Regions from separate parts of the Homo sapiens genome. Here region 2 is linked to region 1. The links are contacts of gene promoters, found by promoter capture Hi-C in blood cells and fetal thymus (Javierre and others, 2016). All regions are on one chromosome and are shown on one strand. The core of a region is centred on a gene start or on the middle of the fragment in contact, and the rest is flanking DNA. Distances in the headings are between cores, read along the strand shown.

Evidence for each region. The method cuts DNA at HindIII sites, captures the fragments that hold promoters and counts their contacts. A CHiCAGO score of 5 or more calls a contact.
Region 2: a contact is called between the fragment with the promoter of ZNF544 here and the fragment with the promoter of SLC27A5 in region 1, in 1 of 17 cell types (total CD4 T cells). The highest score is 8.1, in total CD4 T cells.

What each region holds. Positions count from the first base shown.
Region 1 is chr19:58,510,575-58,513,274 of GRCh38, forward strand. SLC27A5 (solute carrier family 27 member 5) reads right to left here and starts at 1,418. Exons shown (of 10, transcript NM_012254.3): 1 at 694-1,418; 2 at 147-356. The coding sequence starts at 1,381. LOC105372485 (a long non-coding RNA gene) reads left to right here. Exons shown (of 2, transcript XR_001754024.2): 2 at 1-549. RefSeq lists an enhancer at 1,121-1,635. The HindIII fragment of the contact is 7,866 bases long and covers 1-2,700 here.
Region 2 is chr19:58,227,550-58,230,249 of GRCh38, forward strand. ZNF544 (zinc finger protein 544) reads left to right here and starts at 1,365. Exons shown (of 7, transcript NM_014480.4): 1 at 1,365-1,397; 2 at 1,919-2,021. RefSeq lists an enhancer at 1,241-2,067. The HindIII fragment of the contact is 1,767 bases long and covers 263-2,029 here.

The DNA.
Region 1 (2,700 bases), core at 168-2,667:
AAAAAAAAAACAGCCAAACAAAAAACAAATGTCAAAATCAGAGGGTAAAGTGGTTTCAGAGGTCAACACTGAGTCACAAGTCAAGTGTGGGGTCAGGTCAGCCTGAGAGTTCAGAGGCTGGTGCTAGGGCTAATGGGCACCCTCACCAGTGGTCCCCGAGGTATAGATGAAGAGGGCAGGGCTTCTCCATGTGATCCCAGCACGCAGGTCAGCAGGCACTGGGTGGGAGGGCGCTGCATCCAGGGCAGCCCCCAGAGCCCCCACCCCTGGTGTAGGGGAGGTATGGCTGAGGTAGAAGCAGCGGATGTTCTCAGCCTGCAGCTTGGGAAGGATCTCCTCCAGGCTCTCCCGGAGGTCTGCAGAGATGGGTCAGAGGAGAAACAGAGGCAAGGCTCACCTTTGAGGTTGCGAGGCGGGATCTGAGACCCACAGATGCAGGCAGAGGAGCAGCTAGTAGAGAAAAGCATCCATGTTGTTTGGTAAAGAATCCCATCATTAGTATTTTTGGTCAAATTGTGGGAAAATTAAACTCTGATGACCTGAGAACTACTTTCTGCTCATAAGTCTTGATTATAATTGCCTGTGAAAGTAGGCAGGTGGGGACCAAGGGCCTCTGCCAGTCCCAGCAGAACCCCTGTCCTATAGTCCCTGCCCTTGCCCCCTTCCATTCTCCACTGGCTCCAAGGCCCTCACCTGGGTCCACCACCAGCACCCGGGCCCCAGAGCTCAGCACAGAGTGCGCCAGGGGCATCCCCCGGCCATGCGGGTTGATCCAGGCTGTTGGGCAGCCCAGCTTGGCCAGCCCCAGCCACATACACAGGGCTGGAACGGCCTGGGAAGCCAGCACAAGGAGGGCAGTAGGCTCCCCGGCACACAGGCTCGCAGGGTCACCCAGCTCAGCCTTCAGGGCCCATGCCGCCTGGCAGGCCCGGGCATCCAGCTCACCAAAGGTGACTGAGCCGGCCCCAGGCCCCGTCCACACCAAGAGTGCCCTGCCAGGCTGCGCTCGTGCTCGCCGCTCGAAGGCATCTACAAAGGTGTCAGGCGGCTGCCGGCTCAAGCATCCCCTGATCTTCAGGCCCAGGTGGAGGATCTTGGCCAAGAAGATCACATCAGCCGGCAGCCAGCGTAGTCCTGGGGGCAGCCGTGCTGGCAGGAGGGTTAGTGCCAGGGCCGCAGCTGCCAGGCTCAGCCCATGGGGCACCCAGGGGCCGAGCCAGGGCCGTGCTAACATGGCCAGCCCAAGTAGCACGCAACATGTGGGATCCCCCAGGAGCCAGCGCAGGGTCAAGGCCACAGCGACTGGCCACACTGGCTGCCCCAGGCCCCAGAGCAGGAGCAGCAGCAGCAGCAGCAAGGCCAACTGTTGCCTGACACCCATGGTACCAGCTCCTCCCTAGGAGCAGCAGCTGTGGAGTGTTCAGGCTCACCTCTGGCCCCTCAAGAGTAGCCCAATGGCTCCTCCCCAGGGGTGGTGGCCCTGGCACTGCTGACAGTGGCTGGTCCTCTCCCCAGGACTTTGCCCCCAGCCCTTCTCCTCTACGTTTGTTTGCTCTGCCTGGTCTTGTGTGTGGGTCCAGCCCCTCTCTGCCTGGCGCTAACCCTTTCCATCACTGGCCTCTGGGTTCCCAGGTCTCTGCCCCTTGGGCACCACTAGCCTCCTTCCTGCTGTCCTGCTTGCCCCATCCACCCTCCAGGGCTGGCATCTAACTCCCTTGCCTCCCCTCCCATCCCTGCTGGGTACCAGACACTCAGAGCACAGAAATCCCTGCCCTTGGGAACACTCCAATCAGGCCAAACAGAAAAGCAACAGGACAGCAAGGTGGACCTCATTGGGAGGTCCTCCTGTGACACCCACTGAAACCCTGAGGAGAGGGGCTCAGCCAGGCTAAGCCCCTTGTCCCATGATCCGAGGAATCGTACCCTCCTGCCAGGCATACAGCAAGTGCTCAGTAAATACAGGAACACTGGCATCGCCTGGATTCAAACCCAGCTCTGCCCCCCACCCATGTGCTTGCTCTGACTCTCTGCTCCACCTCTGGCTTTGACGACGATGGAGTCCTGGGGTTCAGGAGACTGAAGTCAGCCCATGATGCACACAGTTGGATCATGAAAGCCCTGGCCTCTCACCTTGAGGAAGCAGTCTCAGAAGGTGAACCCAGAGGAGCTGCCATTGGCCTAGGAGCCTGGCAGGTCAGGCTGGGGTATGGCCTGGGGCCATACCCCACTCCACCAGCTCCAAATCCTTATGGCAGGGCACCTAGGCTAGGAGCCACTATTGTGCTGAAGAGGAGAGGGGCAAAGAGTGGCTGCTCTCTCCGCTGGATGCAGGGGCCTGGGACACTGGCTGGCCAGTAGGGGTGGTGTCCCCAACCGCCCAGCAGTCAGCCCCAGGATCCCACCCCTCACTGTTTCCTGCCCCCAACACGGCCATCGGAGCCCTCCCTGAACTTTGCCCCCAGCACCAAGGGCAGATATATGGGGGCTTATATACCCTCAGTGCAACCTGGCCCCAAAGATCCCCCTGGGCTCCCCACAAGTAAGGTGCTCAGCCATGTCCATCAAGGTCGGGGAGGGGAAGTCTTAAGTCCAAAAGACCCTTAGAGCCTGACTGGAAGATCTATGGGAGGGGCCTTAAAGGTCGTGGACAGCAGCAACCAGGAGTATGATGGGGCTTTCACGTGGCCTCCCTCTCGGAGA
Region 2 (2,700 bases), core at 115-2,614, 280 kb before region 1:
GCCGGGCGTGGTGGCGGGCGCCTGTAGTCCCAGCTACTCGGGAGGCTGAGGCAGGAGAAAGGCGTGAACCCGGAAGGCGGAGAGTGCCGTGGGCCTAGATCGTACCACTGCACTCCAGCCTGGTGGACAGAGCGAGACTCCGTCTCACAAAAAAAAAAAAAAAAAAAAAAAAAAAAAAAGACTGAGGGAACCTTCCCAGGAAACCCCTAGCAGCCTTATTTCTCCTTGGCCAGAATATCCTTGCCTAATTCACACAGCAAGAAGCTTGAGTCCATTCTGATTAGCTTAGAATCCATCAAGATCCTCCCTTAGGGAGTTAGATTCTAGATTTCCCGGAAGAATCTAAAAATTGCAGGGTCGTGCTAGCCAGGTATGAAAATAAGCAAGTAAAAAGATGATGACTGTTGGGTAAAGCTATCGACAAGGTCAGCTACAAAACAGTCAAGCCAAGGAAGGCTAGTCACAGATGCACCCCAGACACAAAAGCACAGTCCAGGAGCTGAGGGTGCCTGAGCCACAGTGGTTCCCGCCTACCTGGCCTTCGTAGGAAAGTTTCCTGTGGTCTCCCTCATTGAAGAGCCAGGACGGGTCAGGCGGTGGTGGGTCTCAGACATTGAGCCCCACAACGCACTGAGACTGAACATCAGACCATTTATAATAACAGAACTCTGTCCCACAACTTCTGCAGCAATAGGTACAAAACAGAACTTGGTCACTGCCAGCCTCCCTATTTTTTTCCCTGTCCCACTTAGGAGCTACCACAGAAAGCCAAATAGGCTCGACTGAGCGATCACCTAGGACGAATCGCCTCCAGTTAGCGTGCTTCCACCTTCCACTCGGAATGCTCCAAGCAGGGCACTCCCGGGGCTTTGTTTCTATCACTAGGACGCGTCCCCACGCCCAGGCTGTCCCTGAGTCCCTGCCACAGGCGCAGATGTTGGCGGGCGCCCTTGCCCCTGAGCTCCCGGTTAACGGCCTTGGACTGTTCTCATGGCTCAGTCTTGGTCTCTCTCCCCAGCAGGGCAAGGCGCCGGGAAGGCACCCGAGATGACAGCGCCGAGCCCCATAGGCGCTAGTCCCGCCCTGGACGCCGACCGCCGCCTCCACAGTCTCGGCTTCGGTTGCTGGATGAGAACCAGCGTGGCCCGTTTAAGGGGGAGGGGACAGGCGCTGCAAGGAGCAGAGCCGCGGGAAGCAACTCCCTAAGCCACAATGCTAGTCGCGAACACAGGAAAAAGCTCATCCCGCCGCCGCGGGGCCCCATGCTCCCGCCGGCAATGACTATGCCTGTGGGAGCAACGGCTACCGGCGCGCGGCCTTCTGGGAGTTGTTTGTTGCGCGGAGCGCGGGCACGTCCGCCGGCCACCGGAAGCACCGCCATTGGCCGGTGCGTGCAGGTGAGTCTGGCGGCCTCAAGGTTGGCTCGGAGGTTTCACTGTTAGCCGGGTGCGGCCGGAGCGCAGGACCAGGCCAGAGCCGCCCCAAGTGATCTGGGCGTGCCGGAGAAACGAGCAGGGCCTGCGGGGGTCCCTCATGCGGCGAGGCCGAGCAAGGGCAGGGGCCTGATGGGATCGGGATCTCTCCGGCCTCAGGGACGGGGAAGGCCGGTCCAGTCAGGTTTCCCCTGCAGGAGCGCCCGGCTGGGTCTGAGCTTGTCGGGAGGCTCTCCTGCTGCAGAGCTGGGAGGGAACTTATAGTACCTCGCAGGTACGGGCAGGGGTGGAACTGGGTGGGACTGGGTGGGACTGGGTGGGACTGGGTGGGACTGGGTGGGCCCTCCCGACAGAGGGTGCCTGGGTCGAGGGCTGCAGGGGCGGGGGATTCAGGCTGGCGTCTGGAGCTCTGGGGCTGCCGACCCAGCGGGCCTCTCCCGGCTCCTTTTTCCTCCCTCAACTCATCTTCTGCGGCTTATCCACAGGTGGCAGCCAAGAGCCTCCTGGCACAGCGGCACCAGGCAGGTGACGCCTATTGGACCCCAGAGGTCATCCCAGCTCCAGACGTGGACACATTTTCTTCCAATGGTACGTGAAGCTTGAACCTTGCAGAGAACATGTGTATTTTCCAAGTGAACAGAAGATTAAGGCCAGTCCACGCAGGGCAGGGGTAACTGGGGTGTTGGGGGCCTGCACTGGTTAAGCGATGCTGGTGCACCCCATAGAGAGACTACAGAGGTGAACAGGATGGGATGTGTATGTAACGCCTGTAAGTTAGGGATCGGGGTTCCATTTGTGTTGGGTGATATTTGATGGGGACCGTACAAGGCAGTGCTAATGAGGAAGGCATGGGGTTGGATTTCAAGAGTCTAAGGGAGTAGGGAAACATCTGATTGTGGAAATGACTCCGTGTAAGGAGGGATGCCAAAAGACAGGAAGGAGTGGAGGAAGACTGTGTTTCTGTTTCCAGCGTGGAGCCAGGGTAGAAGTCACAGTGCAAGGAAGATGTGGTATGCCTGGTCAGTCTCTGCATGGGAGTTGAGGAGCATGTGGGTGACATGGCTGAATGTGGAGGAGGGAATGGCAGTGGCAGGAAGCCCAGGAGGTTTGGGCTGGACACGTAACCTGGAGCAGATTGGAAACGTCACCCCACAAGCAGGGAAGGAGAAAACTGGAAAAGGAAAGAGAAAGCAACTCCCTCCCCAGCCCTGCAGCCAGAGGGACTTCTGCCAGATCAGCCACCATACAGGTCCAGTATGAGGAACAG